Regions from separate parts of the Homo sapiens genome. Here regions 2, 3, 4 and 5 are each linked to region 1. The links are contacts of gene promoters, found by promoter capture Hi-C in blood cells and fetal thymus (Javierre and others, 2016). All regions are on one chromosome and are shown on one strand. Each heading gives the region's core, a stretch centred on a gene start or on the middle of the fragment in contact. The rest is flanking DNA. Distances are from core to core; before and after follow the strand shown.

Region 1 (2,832 bases), core at 247-2,746:
AGGTTCAAGCAATTCTTCTGCCTCAGACTCCCGAGTAGCTGGGGTTACAGGCGCCCGCCACCACGCCCAGGTAATTTTTGTATTTTTAGTAGAGATGGGGTTTTACCAGGTTGGCCAGGCTGGTCTCGAACTCCTGACCTCAGGTGATCCGCCCGCCTCGGCCTCCCAAAGTGCTGGGATTACAGGCGTGAGCCACCGCGCCCGTCCGAAAATAATTTCTTAATATCAATGCAAGTGCAAAGTTAATTTTCCTAGCTAACACCTTTCACACCCACCCCCAATAATGACACTTCATCAATTCTTTAAAAGGGAAGCTCCTTAGCTGAAAACCTGCATTCCGCCTTTCACCTTTCCTGTTTAAGTGCATGCCTTTTGTTCAAGATTATATCCAGCCAACCAGGAATACAGGAAGTTTTAATAACGCCACAAGTCATGACGTTGCAATTTGAACAAGTCAGTTCGGGACACTTGGAACTGTTAAAACTGCCTGCAAGGCACCTTCTGACCTCTATGCTTTCGGGTTTGGAAACCACACAACCTGGGGCCACTTAAGAAGCCCTTTTCTTTCTGGGCCCTAACTATACTCTTCAATATCTGAGGCCCAGTCTCCTTCAGTTTCTGCTAGATAGATGACAGGTCTACTGCTTAGAACCTGTGGGGAATGTAAAAGGGATATAAGACATAAAGCAAGGAGCCCAGACGCCGGCTTTCTGCAGCCAGATCGTAGTTACATCTGACTTGGTCTGATTAAGCTATCTGACTTTTGCAGAGAACATTCACAGGAAAGACACATTCACAGGGAAGACACATTCCCTTTCCCAGGAATGTGCCGCCGCCCGATTTTTAAGTTAGAAGACTCTAAGGGAAGTCCGGACCGCTGCCTACTTTCCGAGTGGGGCTCACAAGCGGAATAGAGTCGGGGGCACACGCAGAGTGGAGCTGGCTCTGCCACCTAATTTTTAGAGGTGGAGGAAGATATTAGAAACAAGGCCAGGGCCGCCACCTGCTTTCTAAGGAGGAACTCGGGGCACAGGTTCATTCCCAGGGCCCCCACCTGCCTCCCGCCAAGGCGCTTGAGGCGAAGCACCACCCAAGGTACTCGGGTGGGGGGCGGCGCCCCAGCCAGCCAAACCTGAGCGCTTGGTCCGAGCTCTTCGCTCCAAGACCTTCCAGCTCACTTCTGCCGTGAGTCCCGCCGCCCCCGCCATCGCGCTCCGGTCGCCGCCTTGGCCACCGCCCCCGGGGCCGCCTGTCAGCAATGCCGGGCCACGCCCCCCGCACGACACTGTCGGGAGGCGCGCCTGCCGGAAGTGAGCGTGAGGGCGGCTTTCACCCTAGCTCCACTGCTTTTTTAGCGTCGGAAGGGCAGCCCTAGTGGGAGAGAGAAAAAGGAGCCGGCAGCGGCTCTTACGCGTCCCGGGGCTGCGCGCCACTCTCTCGGCCGGTAACGCGGTGCTTTGCGGCTGTCGTCAAGCGCGGCGTTGGGCCGGCGGGCGGGGGCTGAGGGGCTGCCATGGCGGCGGCGGGCCGGCTCCCGAGCTCCTGGGCCCTCTTCTCGCCGCTCCTCGCAGGGCTTGCACTACTGGGAGTCGGGCCGGTCCCAGCGCGGGCGCTGCACAACGTCACGGCCGAGCTCTTTGGGGCCGAGGCCTGGGGCACCCTTGCGGCTTTCGGGGACCTCAACTCCGACAAGCAGACGGATCTCTTCGTGCTGCGGGAAAGTCAGTGCTTGCCGGGCCCTCCCTCTGTTCGCTGTCCGTGTGCCTCTCCCGGTGTTCCCCAAACCCATTGCCCAATGGCCGGTCCTTCTGCATTTCCTGGTCCTTCTCTCCCAGCCCTGTGGCCTTCCCTTTAGCATTCTTAACAGCTTGTCCTTTTGCACCACCCTTTCCAACCCCAGGTTCTGACCCAGCTACCCTACAGTTTGACCTACCCTCAAAAGCCCTGACAGCACCTCAGTTTTGTTCCTAAGAAGTCTGCGGCCCTCACCCAGTCACCTTACCCCCTCCTCCCCATGGAATCACCTGTTTTCCAAAGTGCTTCCTGATTCCTAGGAATCTTTGTAGCTTGCCTCAACGTTCGCTCCCAAGGCCCACTCATTCCTTTCTATTTTGCTTCAGTCTTCCTTCCCCGTTGATGAACATGAAAAGGTGCAACCTGACAATCTCTTCTCATAGGGGGCTTCTTCTTGCCTCCCCACCTACCTAATTCGCCCACCCCTTTCTTTGTCAAGGCCACAACTTTCTATGAAGCGAATGTACCCTTCCAAGGGCCTAAACACTAAACAGCTCACACAAGCATTTTGCAGGGACCACTGATAAACCCAATGCCTCCTTGGGAAAGCAGTCTCAAACTACAGAAATTTCTCTCTTGAGCTGCCTGTTCTTTCGTGTACTCCTTCCTCATCTTGGTCATCACCTTAGTGTTCCAAATGTCTACTTTCTTTGCTAACTTGTTCTTGGAAATTCTTTGCTTTGACAATCGTTAAACTAACTTTTTTGTAAATCTTGATGCTGACAGTGGGCATTAGGGGGTCTTAGGGTTCTTGAGTACCTACAGAAGCAGGTGCTGCTTAAAGATCAATGCTGTGAAGGAAGGAAGGAAGAGCTACTCAGAGCTTGCCTGACAGGATCCTGAACCAGACTTCTTGGAGCCCTTGCGGGGATGCAGGAACCTCTTACAAACCCTGAATATTTTCCCAATCTTTTTGACTCCTCATTTTGCAGTGTACTGCCAAACCTGTTGCTGCTGTGTCCAAACTGGATACAGAGAGTAGCCTTGACTTTAAAGATGGCCTGTGTTTGATTAAACAATTCCAAAAGTCTGTCTCAA
Region 2 (2,832 bases), core at 93-2,592, 920 kb before region 1:
GCCAAGCACATAGTCTGTAAAAATGGAAAATTTACCTCTAAACTGAAGTGAACCGAACTCTATTGACCTTCCCGTGTACTGAGGAGCTATAACTTCTCCCCAAAAATGTGAAAGTAAAATTGCAGTTTAAATCATGTAATTAGGAATACTGTAAACTAGTGTTTTGCACATATAAACTTTATCATACACTGGGAATTTGTACATACGTGCCCGGTATGGGATTTTTCTATTTTTATTTTTATTTTTTTGAGACAGAGTCTCGCTCTGTTGTCCAGGCTGGAGTGCAATGGCCTGATCTCTGCCTCACTGCAACCTCTGCCTCCCGGGTTCAAGCGATTCTCCTGCCTCAGCCTCCGAGTAGCTGGGACTACAGGCGTGCACCACCACGCCCGGCTAATTTTTGTATTTTTAGTAGAGATAGGGTTTCACCATGTTGGCCAGGCTACTCTCGAACTCCTGACCTCAGGTAATCCATCGGCCTCGGCCTCCCTAAGTGCTGGGATTACAGGCGTGAGCCACCGCGTCCGGACGGAATACCATTTTAATAGATCTTACATGGAATTCCAGTTAGGGCTTGTAAATGTCTCAGATGCTTGCTTCTGCTCATAGCACCCATCAAAGAATTGCAAGTGATGTTTTCCTTTTATTATTTCAAGAAGTGGAATGCAGAGTCCCTAATTAGGGACTTTCCAGATGAGCATGGACACAGGAAAACGCGTGCTTCCCCATTACCCACTTTTCAGCTGAAACAAGCTTTTGAAGCTCGTCCCGCTGTTGCTGAGGAGCGGCTCAACCTCGGGAGAGGCTGGGACTCTCTTTAGGGGTGGGGTCCCGGTCGGCGGGCAGGGCAGCCGCTTTTTCTTTGGGACTGAGTGGAGTTGGGAAGGATCCGTGGAGGCGCTGGGCTAAATCAGCAGACAAAACAAGGGGGAGGGCACAAGGCCGCGGCGGCGGCCAGCCTGGGGCTCGCATCCCGCTGGGCGACCCCTCCGGCCGGAGCCGGGGGGGTCACGCGGCCCCGGAACAAAGCGCCGCGGGAGGAGCTGCCCTGAGCCGACGGGCAAGCGCTAGCTTCTCGCGGGCCAGAGCGCCACGTGCCAGGATCCGTTGAATGCGCGGTGCACGGGCGCAGCAACGGTAGCCGAGTAGCCCCCGCACCTACTGCCGCCTTTGGAGACCCGCACAGCTACGCCCGCGGAGGCCGCCGCCGGCCGCGCCAACGCCTGTGCGCCTGCGCGCCCGCGAAAGCCCCGCCCCCCCAGGCTCCCAGCGCGCGGGGCCGCGCCTCCTCATGGCCGCCGCCGCAGTGTGTGGTATTTAGCGGGGGCGCGCGGCGGGCTCGAGGACGCGCGAAACGGCGGCGGCGGCGGCGGCCAGGGGGGAGCCGGGGCGGCCGTTGCGGGGCGCGCTCTCGAGAGGCGGCGGCGGCCCAGGGTGTCCCGTCGGTCTCGGCGCCGGGAAGAGGCGGTGGCGCTGCCCGCGGTGGCGGGGGTTGGCGACGGAGCGCGTTGGTGCCAGGACCGGGGTCCGAGGCGCGCTCTCCGCCCACAGGTAAGTGGGGCCCGGCCTGAGGGAGGAGCCGGCGGCGAGGGGCTCTCCGACAGGCGGGCGCCCAGGCCCGGTAATGGCGGAGGGCGGGAAGGGCGGCCCGGCCGGGGCGCGGGCAGTAGTCGGCGCGGCGGCGCCTTTGTCTCGGCCGGAGTCGGGCCGCCCGGTCGAGCGCCGCCCCCCGCCCCTCCCCTGCCTTCAGCCTTCGCAAGCCGGCTCGCCCCCGCCCCTGGAGCCCCGGGCCCGGCGGGGTGGCGGCGGGGGTCGGCCCCGCGCGGCCGGGCCGAGGGCGGGGGAAGGGCCTCGGCGGCGGCCCGGCCCCCGCGCGCCCGGGAGGCGGGCCCGGCCGGGGGTGGCGCCCGGCGCGCCCCGCGCCCTCGTGCCGGCCTTTGTTGTGGAGGGTCCCGGGGTGTGCGGCCAACATGGCGGAGGTCAGCTGAGTGCGGGCAGCTGCCGGGGCCCTGCCCTCCCTCCCCCTCCTCCCCGCGGCGCCCGGAGGCCCGGGCCGCACCGCGCCGCTCGGCGGGCCTCGGCCTCCGCTCTCTGCCCCCGACCCCCGGCTGGAGCCGTCCGGGACGGGGCTGCGCTCTTCCTGCCGCTTCGGCCGGAGGCTTCATTGTGCAGTGGGAAGAATGCAGCCTCCTCCCTTGTTTATGTCGTTAGAGAGGAGAGCGCGTGAACGGCGTGCCGGGGAAGCTCTAGCTTATTATAAACCTGGCATTTCCTAGGGTTCATTTGCCGGGTAGTTTGGGGTCCTTTCTTAACTCTCCCAAATTTATAACTTAAAGTGAATAACCTGGGCCACTCCGATGCGTAGGTTCGTTTTCGCTGTCTGCCCGTTCCTGGAAAGATACATAATTTGTTTGCTCGGACATTCAGAAAAGTCCAGCTTGGGTGTTCGGAAAATCAGATTGTGTGTACTTCTTTTGCCAAAGTCATAGAGGCCATAAACAAACAGAGAGACATGGATACTGGATATGGGACGGTGTTCTGACTGTCCCTTCCTAGCAGTTGAGCATTTACCTTTGCTTATAGCGGCTGTCAAGGGTAAATTGTTAACTCTTCAGCAGTTGGATGTTGAGAGCACGGGCTGTGAAGTCCGACTGTCTGCTTTGGGTCAAATCCTGCTCCACTGGTTTGTGACCTTGGGCAGATACTTCTCTGTGCTTCGCTTTCCTTATCTGCAAAATGGGTGTAACGACAGTATCTACCTCAAGCCCTGTTGAGAATTGATGAGATGACAATAGGTGGACTGAAAGCAGTGGCAGCCCCATACTAAGTTCT
Region 3 (2,832 bases), core at 90-2,589, 770 kb after region 1:
GGACCGTGGCTGGGACTATAGGCTCACACTATCACACCTAGCTTAGCTATCACTTTTTTCCCTCCCTTACACTCCAAGCATTCCAAGACATCTAATAATAGCTAACGTCTATCAAGCACTTAACTGGTGCTTGATAGGCACTGAACCAAGTACTTTAAATAGCATTATTTCATTTAACCCCTACTACACTCCGTAATAGGTGATAATATTAATCACATTTTATAGGTCAGGAAATTGAGGCTCACAGAAATTATACTTTCTTAGAATCCCATAGCCAGTGGTTGGGCATAGTGGCTCATGCCTGTAATCCCAGCACTTTGGGAGGTGAAGGGGGCGGGTCACTTGAGCCCAGGAGTTCAAGACCAGCCTGGGTAACATAGTGAGGTCCCATCTCTATCAAAAATACAAAAATTAGCCAGGTGTGGTAGCACATGCCTGTAGTCCCAGCTACTCGGGAGGCTGAGGTGGGAGGATGGTTTGAGCTCAGGAGGCGGAGGCTGCAGTGAGCCGAGACCGTGCCACTGCACTCTAGCATGGGTGAGAGAACCAGGCCATGTCTCAGAAAAAGAGAAACCAAAAAACCAAAATCAAACAAACAAACAAAAAAACCAAAAAATCACATAGCCAGTAGGTGGTATTAAAACAATAATGCAGCCATTTGCCTGAGATTGTCTTTGTAGCTAAAGCTCTTATAAGCAAACTGGAACCTAACTTGGAAACATTTCTTTTGTCGGGGGAAAAGAACCTCCGAAAGACAAAAATAATCCCCAGCCAATCACAAACAGCCAACCAGCTGACTTGTTATACAACTAGGGACTTCCCATCAGACCATGCCCAGGTTTAAGACAAATACCTAGCTGTAGCTGCCCAGGCTGGTCTCGCACTCATGGGCTCAAGCAATCCTCCCGCCTCAGCCTCCCAAAGTGCTGGGATTACAGGAATAAGCCACTGTGCCAGACCAGCCATATTCTTAATTACCCAATAACGATGTTACTTCCATTACTGATTGCTTGGAAAACTGGTCTTATCAAATGATTCACAGTCAGAATGTACTTAAAACTGGACTCCTGTCAGGCAAGCTGCTAGAGCAGCACTGGGCTGTTCACTGCATAAAATGTCAACGTCAGTACCGTGTTAGTAAAACTTACCCTTTGCTGGGGCTTCAACCACTATCTTCTTTCTCTTCCGTGGTGGAGTAGCTACATCTCCAGGTTCTCCTTTAAGAAGTGTTATCAAGGTTAATTTTTCTCCTGTTCTCAATTTCAGTATTTGGGCATGTTTTGGATCACAAATAAAATTAGACATCTTAACTGATCAAATATGAGGAGAAGAGAAATGATCTTAGACCTCTCTTTTGGGCCTCTTGTCAGACTTGAGAATCATTTTCCAGGCATAGATTCATGGAATCATAGGTTAGAAACATCAATAAAAACATACCTGGTCCACATGTAATACGGAATTTAGGAAGCAGCCAGTTTACATATTTGAAAATATTTGACTTTTACAAGCAAAAGGACTACATTTTCAAATGACGCATTCTTGAACTACAGAATACTTACTGTCGACCTGCTGTCCAATCTTCTCTAGTTGTTTACACAGTCGATCAAATATAGCTTTTTTTACACCGGATGTGGCTACCATTTTGTTTTTATCCACTTTCAGCTTTAGAATCCTACAAAACAATTTCATAAGTTGCTTTTCTCAAGACCTGTACAGTTTTCTTCTCTGGGCAACCAGATAATCAACTTATTTTCTTTTTGACCATGCTTCCAGAGCCTCTGTCTAGTTTTTTTCCTTCATTCCAAACATGTTATTATCTATGCTAAGTTGTTTAGTTGTTTATTGGACTGAGAGTTAAAATGCACATGGGATCTATTTTATAACAAAAGGGGCACATAAAAGACATTTGCTGTAGTGCTTCATGACTTTTAGAACTCTTTAGTAAATCTCAGATTAATTTAATGAATGACAATCATAGGACTTTTTTGTTCCACTCATTTTAACTCACAGGATATTTATATTACAGGAATGTAACAACCCCACCCCACCCTGAAAATAAACTTTCCTAATAAGACTCCACAGCAACCACTAATTACAAACACAAAATAAACTTTTTCTTCAGAATAGACCTGTCAAGACCTTTTCTTACTCAGCGTAATATGGTTTCAAAAGTAGAGTTGACTATTCTCACTGTTTTCTACAATATCAGCTGCACTCCCTCCGTATATGCACATACTTTTGTTGAATTGAAGAGATGTTTTCCATAAATGCCAATTAATACTCCTAGGTATGTACCTAATAGAGCCAAGCATACCAAAATTAGTGGGTAGGTAGTGAGAAATCCATTCTTTAAGGGCCAACTACATTTTGTTTTCTAAGGAGTTTTCTGGCAAGATAAAAATAAGATAACTTTAGACAAAGATTATCAACAATTACTAATATTTCCAAGGTAACATTTCAGCATACACATAGATAACCCACAATTGTAAGATTCAGATGTGATAATTTATCACTAAAATGTTATAAATTCCTTGAAGAACAGTTGTAGCCAGTGTTTTGTTTTTTTTTTAAGAGACAGTGTTGTGGGGGGGTCAGCCCCCCGCCCGGCCAGCCGCCCCGGCCGCCCCTACTGGGAAGTGAGGAGCCCCTCTGCCCGGCCAGCTGCCCCGTCCGGGAGGGAGGTGGGGGGGTCAGCCCCCCGCCCGGCCAGCCGCCCCGTCCAGGAAGGAGGTGGGGGGGGTCAGCCCCCCCGCCCGGCCAGCCGCCCCGTCCGGGAGGTGAGGGGCGCCTCTGCCCGGCCGCCCCTACTGGGAAGTGAGGAGCCCCTCTGCC
Region 4 (2,832 bases), core at 200-2,699, 720 kb before region 1:
AATCACACATCACATTGCTTTGCAGCCCCAAGAGGCTTCTCAGTAAATGCCAGAGATGCATCTGGCTGCGAGGCAAAGAACCAACTCAAAATGGCCTCGACCATCTGGGAACTTATTCTCTCATGTAACCAGAAGGCTGGGGTAGGCCTATGCTCAGTTGGCTCATTTAGTGGCCTAGCATGAACCCTTGATCGTTCTACCTTTCTGTGCTGGCATCCACAGCCTGGCTTTGTCTGCAAGTCTGTCTGTATTCATGGTCACAAAATGGCTGCTGCAGCCCCAAGTGTCACATCCTCCCACAATAACAGTCAAAGGCTGGAGAGGAGATAACTTTTTCCATGTGTTCCTTTTTAAAAGCAAAGAGAAGTTTTCAAGAATACACCCATCTGATGCCTTCTCATCCTTCAACGGCCAGAATGGCATCATGAGCCCACACCTAAACCAAGCTCTGGCAAGAGGAGTAGAATTAATGTGGTTGGTTTGGATTAACCAAGCTTCCCTGAAGCATAAGACCACCAGACACCTGAACATGATGCTGGCAAGGCAGCCCGCAGGGTGTGATACACTGAGGGATGGGAGGAAAAGTGGTCTTCCAACCCGCCCCTGGCCTCTTTTTCAGACTAAGCACCATTTCATCATGGTGCCCACCTTCTCTGACTTACAGAGGGCTTCCCCTCCTTCCTACACCCTTTTGTTTCAGCCATAGCCAAATGGCTTGTGGGTGCCTGGATGTATTCTGAGAATTTGCTGCTTTCAGGGCTTACATAGGCTGTTCTGTTTGGAACACACTTCTCCACCCATCTTTAGTCCACTGCATCTTACTTCACCTTAAAAATGTCACTCTAGGACTGACTCTTCTTGGAATCCTTCCCTGTGCCCTCATCCAGGGCCCCTCCTGTGCATCCCAGTGGCACTCCAGGGCTTCTCCATTGTGGAGTGCGCCCCTCTGCACTTTATTCTTTGTTGCCTTGTCTGCCTTTCCATCCAGCTGGGATCTCCTCGAGGGCAGGCCTACATCTGCTGCACTTTGGGACATGGAGCCTGGTCCAGCACCTGGCACAGAGCCATCCACCAGAGTTTGTTGAATGAATGTATGATTAATGTGTTACCCAGCACCCCCTGCACGTCCTGTTTGCCCATTTCTTGGGCCAGGGTAATGGAGGTTATAGACCGGGGCCCCAAGCCCAGCTCTGCCTCCAGCTTCTAGACGTTTCTGTGGATGTAATTTCTTCTTTTGGCGCCTCAGTTTCCTTATCTTTGGTGCCCCCAATTCCCAAGAGTCCCTAACTCCTCTAGCCTGGGTTTCCCTGAAGGCAGGACCTGAGAAAGGAACTTGGGTGCAGGCAGCTTATTTGGGAAGTGCTCCCAGGAACCAGGATTGAGGGAGCAGAAAAGTGAGATGAGGAAGGAGGAAGTCATCATGGGAGTGTGACACTGGGGTCCCTGTTCTATGTCACTAGGGCTCAACTGTCCTGGGATCTCCTGAGAAGCATATGGGGTATTTCCAGGACCATGCCCTCAAAGGCTGGGAGATGGGAGCATTTATCTCTGCTAGCTCTTGTTCCCCATCAGTCAAAGTTCATTCTCAGTAACCTTAAGTCTCCTGGGTTTCTGGGATGTCCTCATGCACAGGCTAGGTGGTTGCTGTGATGTGGGCAGAGGTCTTGAGCAGAAAGACATACAGAGGGCACTCGAGGTGGAACAGTGTCTGGGGAGGTTCTCCCCCAGAATTGCCCATCGCAGCTGCAGCTAAACTCAGAAGTGGGCTGAGGAGGCACCAGGGGCCTCTGCTCCATTCTTGCTAGGAAAATTATCTTAGTTTCAGGGGTCACTCAGGGGCAATGGCAATCAGTGGTTATCAGGAGCGTTGAAGAGCCTGAGCACACCCCAGCAGCCTCTTGACCCCCGATACTTCTCCTTCCTTCTAGCTGGCGTCCAGCTTCCAGGCCACTGCCCGGATTGGCTTGGAGACAGAGGCACAGTTCACGGCTGTAGAGAGGATACTGCAGTACATGAAGGTGGGGTTCAGGTCTGGGTCTGGTGTGGGGAGCCATGCAAGTTGGGGCATGACTTCTGTGACCTCTACAAGCCCCACTGGCCTCAGAGCCCTGAGACCATCCCAGGAAACACCAGGCTCCTGGCCTTTCCTCCCTGTCTTCCCCAGACTTTTGTTGACCATCTCGCTGAAGCTCTTCCATACCTGTCTGCTCACTTTGACCACATCCCTCACAGCATTCCTAGGGGGAAGAGGAGATCATCTTCTCCTCTTGGAAATGAGAGGTTTGCCCAGTGCAATAATAATGATGACAACAATCTTTGTTCCTATTATTGCTTCCATTTATGTCATGGTGGTTAAGAGCACAGATTCTGTAGCCAGATTTCCTGGGTTCAAGTCTAAGCTTTACCATTTGAATCATTGGAATAACCTGGGCAACTTATTCAAACTCTCTTTTCCCCATCTCTGAAATGAGAAAGACAATAGCGTCCCTTTGCCAGATTATCACAAAGTTGAAATGATATAACATGTAAAGCACATAGCACACTGCCTGACCCATAGTGAGGCTCCATCATGTTCTTTATTATTGTGATTGAGACCTTTCTGTGGGCCAGGCATGGTGCTAAGCCCTTTATCTAGACTATCTCATGGGATCATGGAACAATTTTATTAGGTTGATTGAATGATTATCCACATTTTTCAGACAAGGAAACCGAGGTTGGGCCAGGCAGAACTTTTGCTTAAGATCACACAGGCTGGGGCTGGCAGAGCCCTCTACAAACCAGGTCTCCTGCCCCCTTGCATGAGTGGAATTTATGAATTGTAGGGCTCTGATT
Region 5 (2,832 bases), core at 94-2,593, 590 kb before region 1:
TGGAAGCAATCCGAAATGATTATTGACGTGAAAGGGTGGTCCATGAACAGCAGCATCCACACTGCCTGCAAGCCCATTGGTAATGCAGAATCTCAGCTTCACTGCAGACCTATTGAATCAGAATCTGCCTTTCAACCAGATCTCCAAATAATTCAAGAGCATAATCAAGAATGAGAAGTGCTCTTGTCCTTCAGCTCTGACCGATCCCTTTCACTTCCCCTGAAAGACAGCCAACTCTCCAAAACTTTCCTTCTCATCAGCTGTCACAGAGCTTTCTGAAGCAGTGTGTATTGTCAGCCCTCTCTTCTCCAAGCAAAGCAATTAACACACTCAACAAATGTGTGTGGGGTGCTCACTGTGTGTTATGTGTCCATGGGGAGGAGAGATACATGTGTGAGGACCCCTGCACAGTGGCCCATTCTCTCCGTTCTCCTGACTTCAGGTGTTTCAGCCAGTTCTTGGAATGACATGGCTTCCAGACCCCTTTGTCATTGTCCTTCAGCTCATCCATGTTGTCAAAAATAATTCTTTAATATTATTTCATTCAAAAACATATTTAACTGAATAATTTTGAATGGATATTTGAATAAGTCCCCCTTAAAGTCTGGCACTCAAACAGGACCCTATATTTCCAAAGTTGCCTGAAAAAATGAGTAATTGAGGGAACTTTTACTTTTGTGGTCTGGATAGAATCACCTGGGTGTCTCAAGTGTGAACGCCATCTCTATCTCCAACTAACTATCTATGGTGAGTGGGGTGGCCATCTTCATCATGAAATGAGGCCCTTGGAGTGCATCACTAAGGTCCCTTGTGTTCCACATTTTATTCCTGATGCTGAAAGGAAGGAACAAGAAATGCTGCCACATTGCACTCCTCGGCCCCTCTGTCCTTCCTTTCCACCAGTTACCAAGCCCCCCATGTCAGGGACATCCCTCGGCCCTGGAGATTCAGCAGTGACATGAGCAAGGATGCAGATTCCATTCTAAAAAGAAAAGACTGAAAACAGAGGAACCCATAAGCGAGCATCTTGACCTGCAGCATTCTGGCCCACTCAGATGGAAACCACCTTTGCAAGAATTATAACAGTAAGAAAATTATGGCAGTAAAAGAGATATGATCTAACTCACCCTCCATCTTGCCTTTCCCTTAATTATTGCTGGGCTTTTGGGCTAGCTAACTTTGGAAGACATTTAGGTTATAGTTTAAATGATAATAGCCCTTCCCCCAAACTTGACTCCCTCTATAAAGCTAATGAAAGGCCATGGGGCTATGGGGGTGGAAAGGAGCCTGATTCTGCTAAGGTGCAGACATAGATTGCCAGCCATTCCTGCAGATAACACCACTATTGTAGATTGGCCTTTTGAGATAGCTTGTCAGATTTTTTGAATGTCTGACACCTATGGCTCCAAGCCGACCCACCGATCCCACTCCTGTGACCCCACCCAGAAGCAATTCAGCATGCAGGAGGACAGCTTCTATCCCCCCAACCCCACACTTCAGCTATAACAGGAAATATCCTCTCCATAGAGCATACAGTAAGTGAATGACTTTGTAACTTTACTTCATCCTCTTCATTTACATAGGGCATACCCCAAGTCGAGGGTATCTAAACTCTCAAACATTCTGTAACAGAGCCTTTGAGCCCCTATGCTCAGACCCGCTCCCACACTGTGGAGTGTACTTTCATTGTCAATAAATCCCTTCATTCCTTCTTTGCTTTGTTTGTACGTTTTGTCCAATTCAGTATGCCAAGAACCTGGACACCCTCCACCAGTAACAGAGGGAAGGGTTTGCTTCTTCTCTTGCTGTGGCCCTACCCATTGTGCTTTCTCATCTCTGTTTTGCAAGCAGCCTTCTTAAGAAGGAGCGAATGAATAAAGTAAAATAAAAACTTTTTGGTTTCTACTAGACTCTTTCACTTACCACCAACTTCCACAATGAGCAACCATGTTCCGTTTCTTCTGCTGTAAGAGTATTAGCAGTAGTGAATACAGGTCTGCAGCAACTCGGTTCTTGTCTCCTCAGAGGAAAGAATTTGTCTGAGGGGCATAAGGCAGAGTGAGGGACTGAGGCAAGTTTTAGAGCAGACATGAAAGTTTATTTAAAAAGATTTAGAGCAGGAATTAAAGGAAGTAAAGTACACTTGGAAGAGGGCCAAGCGGGTGACTTGAGAGATCAAGTGTGCGGTTTGACCTTTGACTTGGGGTTTCATACACTGGCATGCTTTGGGGGTCTTGCAGCTCTTGTCCTCTGATTCTTCCCTTGGAGTGGGCTGTCCACATGCACAGTGGCCTGCCAGCACTTGGGAGGGGCCACATGCACAGTATGTTTACTGAAGTGTACATGCTCACTTGAGGCATCCTTCCCTTACCAGATGAGTGTTCCTAGAGGAAGGTCATATACTGGGTAATCTCCACCATCTGCCTGTTAATGCGCATGCTTGAGTCCACTCGCCCAACTCCTAAGATCTTATCAGGAAGTTGCTGATCATCAGTTTCAGGTGTTTTCTATCTATTGGGAGACTGCCTTTCCCTGATGCTGGCTGTGACTAATGATTATTTTAGAGAGACCATTTAATAACTACCCGACCATCACCTGATGGTCAGCTGACATTCCTGGTGGAGGGGCTCCCTTCTGCCCTGCTTATGTCTTCCTAACTACCTACTCTAATAAAAAGAGTAAAAGGTGGAGAGAAGCAACATCAGGGAGACAGCCACCCTCCACCTACAGAGGGAAAGTTTGAGTCAGCAGCAGGAAAGAGTCCCTTGGAAGTGGGCTCCAAGGTGGGGTTTACAGAGGCTTGCCTGCCGGGCTGCTCTGGTGAGCACTCTG

The links. The method cuts DNA at HindIII sites, captures the fragments that hold promoters and counts their contacts. A CHiCAGO score of 5 or more calls a contact.
Region 2: the fragment with the promoter of SIAH1 here is called in contact with the fragment with the promoter of ITFG1 in region 1 in 2 of 17 cell types (neutrophils and monocytes); the score reaches 5.3 in neutrophils.
Region 3: a fragment that was not itself captured here is called in contact with the fragment with the promoter of ITFG1 in region 1 in 1 of 17 cell types (neutrophils); the score reaches 6.0 in neutrophils.
Region 4: a contact is called between a fragment that was not itself captured here and the fragment with the promoter of ITFG1 in region 1, in 1 of 17 cell types (neutrophils). The highest score is 8.1, in neutrophils.
Region 5: a contact is called between a fragment that was not itself captured here and the fragment with the promoter of ITFG1 in region 1, in 1 of 17 cell types (endothelial precursors). The highest score is 6.0, in endothelial precursors.

What each region holds. Positions count from the first base shown.
Region 1 is chr16:47,459,727-47,462,558 of GRCh38, reverse strand. ITFG1 (integrin alpha FG-GAP repeat containing 1) reads left to right here and starts at 1,496. Exons shown (of 18, transcript NM_030790.5): 1 at 1,496-1,721. The coding sequence starts at 1,514. It overlaps PHKB (phosphorylase kinase regulatory subunit beta), which reads right to left and starts at 1,228. Exons shown (of 31, transcript NM_000293.3): 1 at 1,133-1,228. The coding sequence starts at 1,208. RefSeq lists a silencer at 1,118-1,587. The HindIII fragment of the contact is 8,409 bases long and covers 1-2,832 here.
Region 2 is chr16:48,383,923-48,386,754 of GRCh38, reverse strand. SIAH1 (siah E3 ubiquitin protein ligase 1) reads left to right here and starts at 1,342. Exons shown (of 2, transcript NM_003031.4): 1 at 1,342-1,551. RefSeq lists silencers at 914-1,733, 1,834-1,903, 1,994-2,263. The HindIII fragment of the contact is 2,947 bases long and covers 756-2,832 here.
Region 3 is chr16:46,694,402-46,697,233 of GRCh38, reverse strand. It overlaps ORC6 (origin recognition complex subunit 6), which reads right to left. Exons shown (of 7, transcript NM_014321.4): 5 at 1,560-1,672; 6 at 1,149-1,217. Among named protein-coding and RNA genes, the nearest start is that of ORC6, 6.2 kb to the right of the region's middle. The HindIII fragment of the contact is 5,773 bases long and covers 1-2,832 here.
Region 4 is chr16:48,177,783-48,180,614 of GRCh38, reverse strand. It overlaps ABCC11 (ATP binding cassette subfamily C member 11), which reads left to right. Exons shown (of 30, transcript NM_001370497.1): 24 at 1,929-2,018. Among named protein-coding and RNA genes, the nearest start is that of ABCC12, 23 kb to the right of the region's middle. The HindIII fragment of the contact is 1,905 bases long and covers 497-2,401 here.
Region 5 is chr16:48,049,619-48,052,450 of GRCh38, reverse strand. No RefSeq gene overlaps it. Among named protein-coding and RNA genes, the nearest start is that of LINC02134, 85 kb to the right of the region's middle. The HindIII fragment of the contact is 3,168 bases long and covers 1-2,832 here.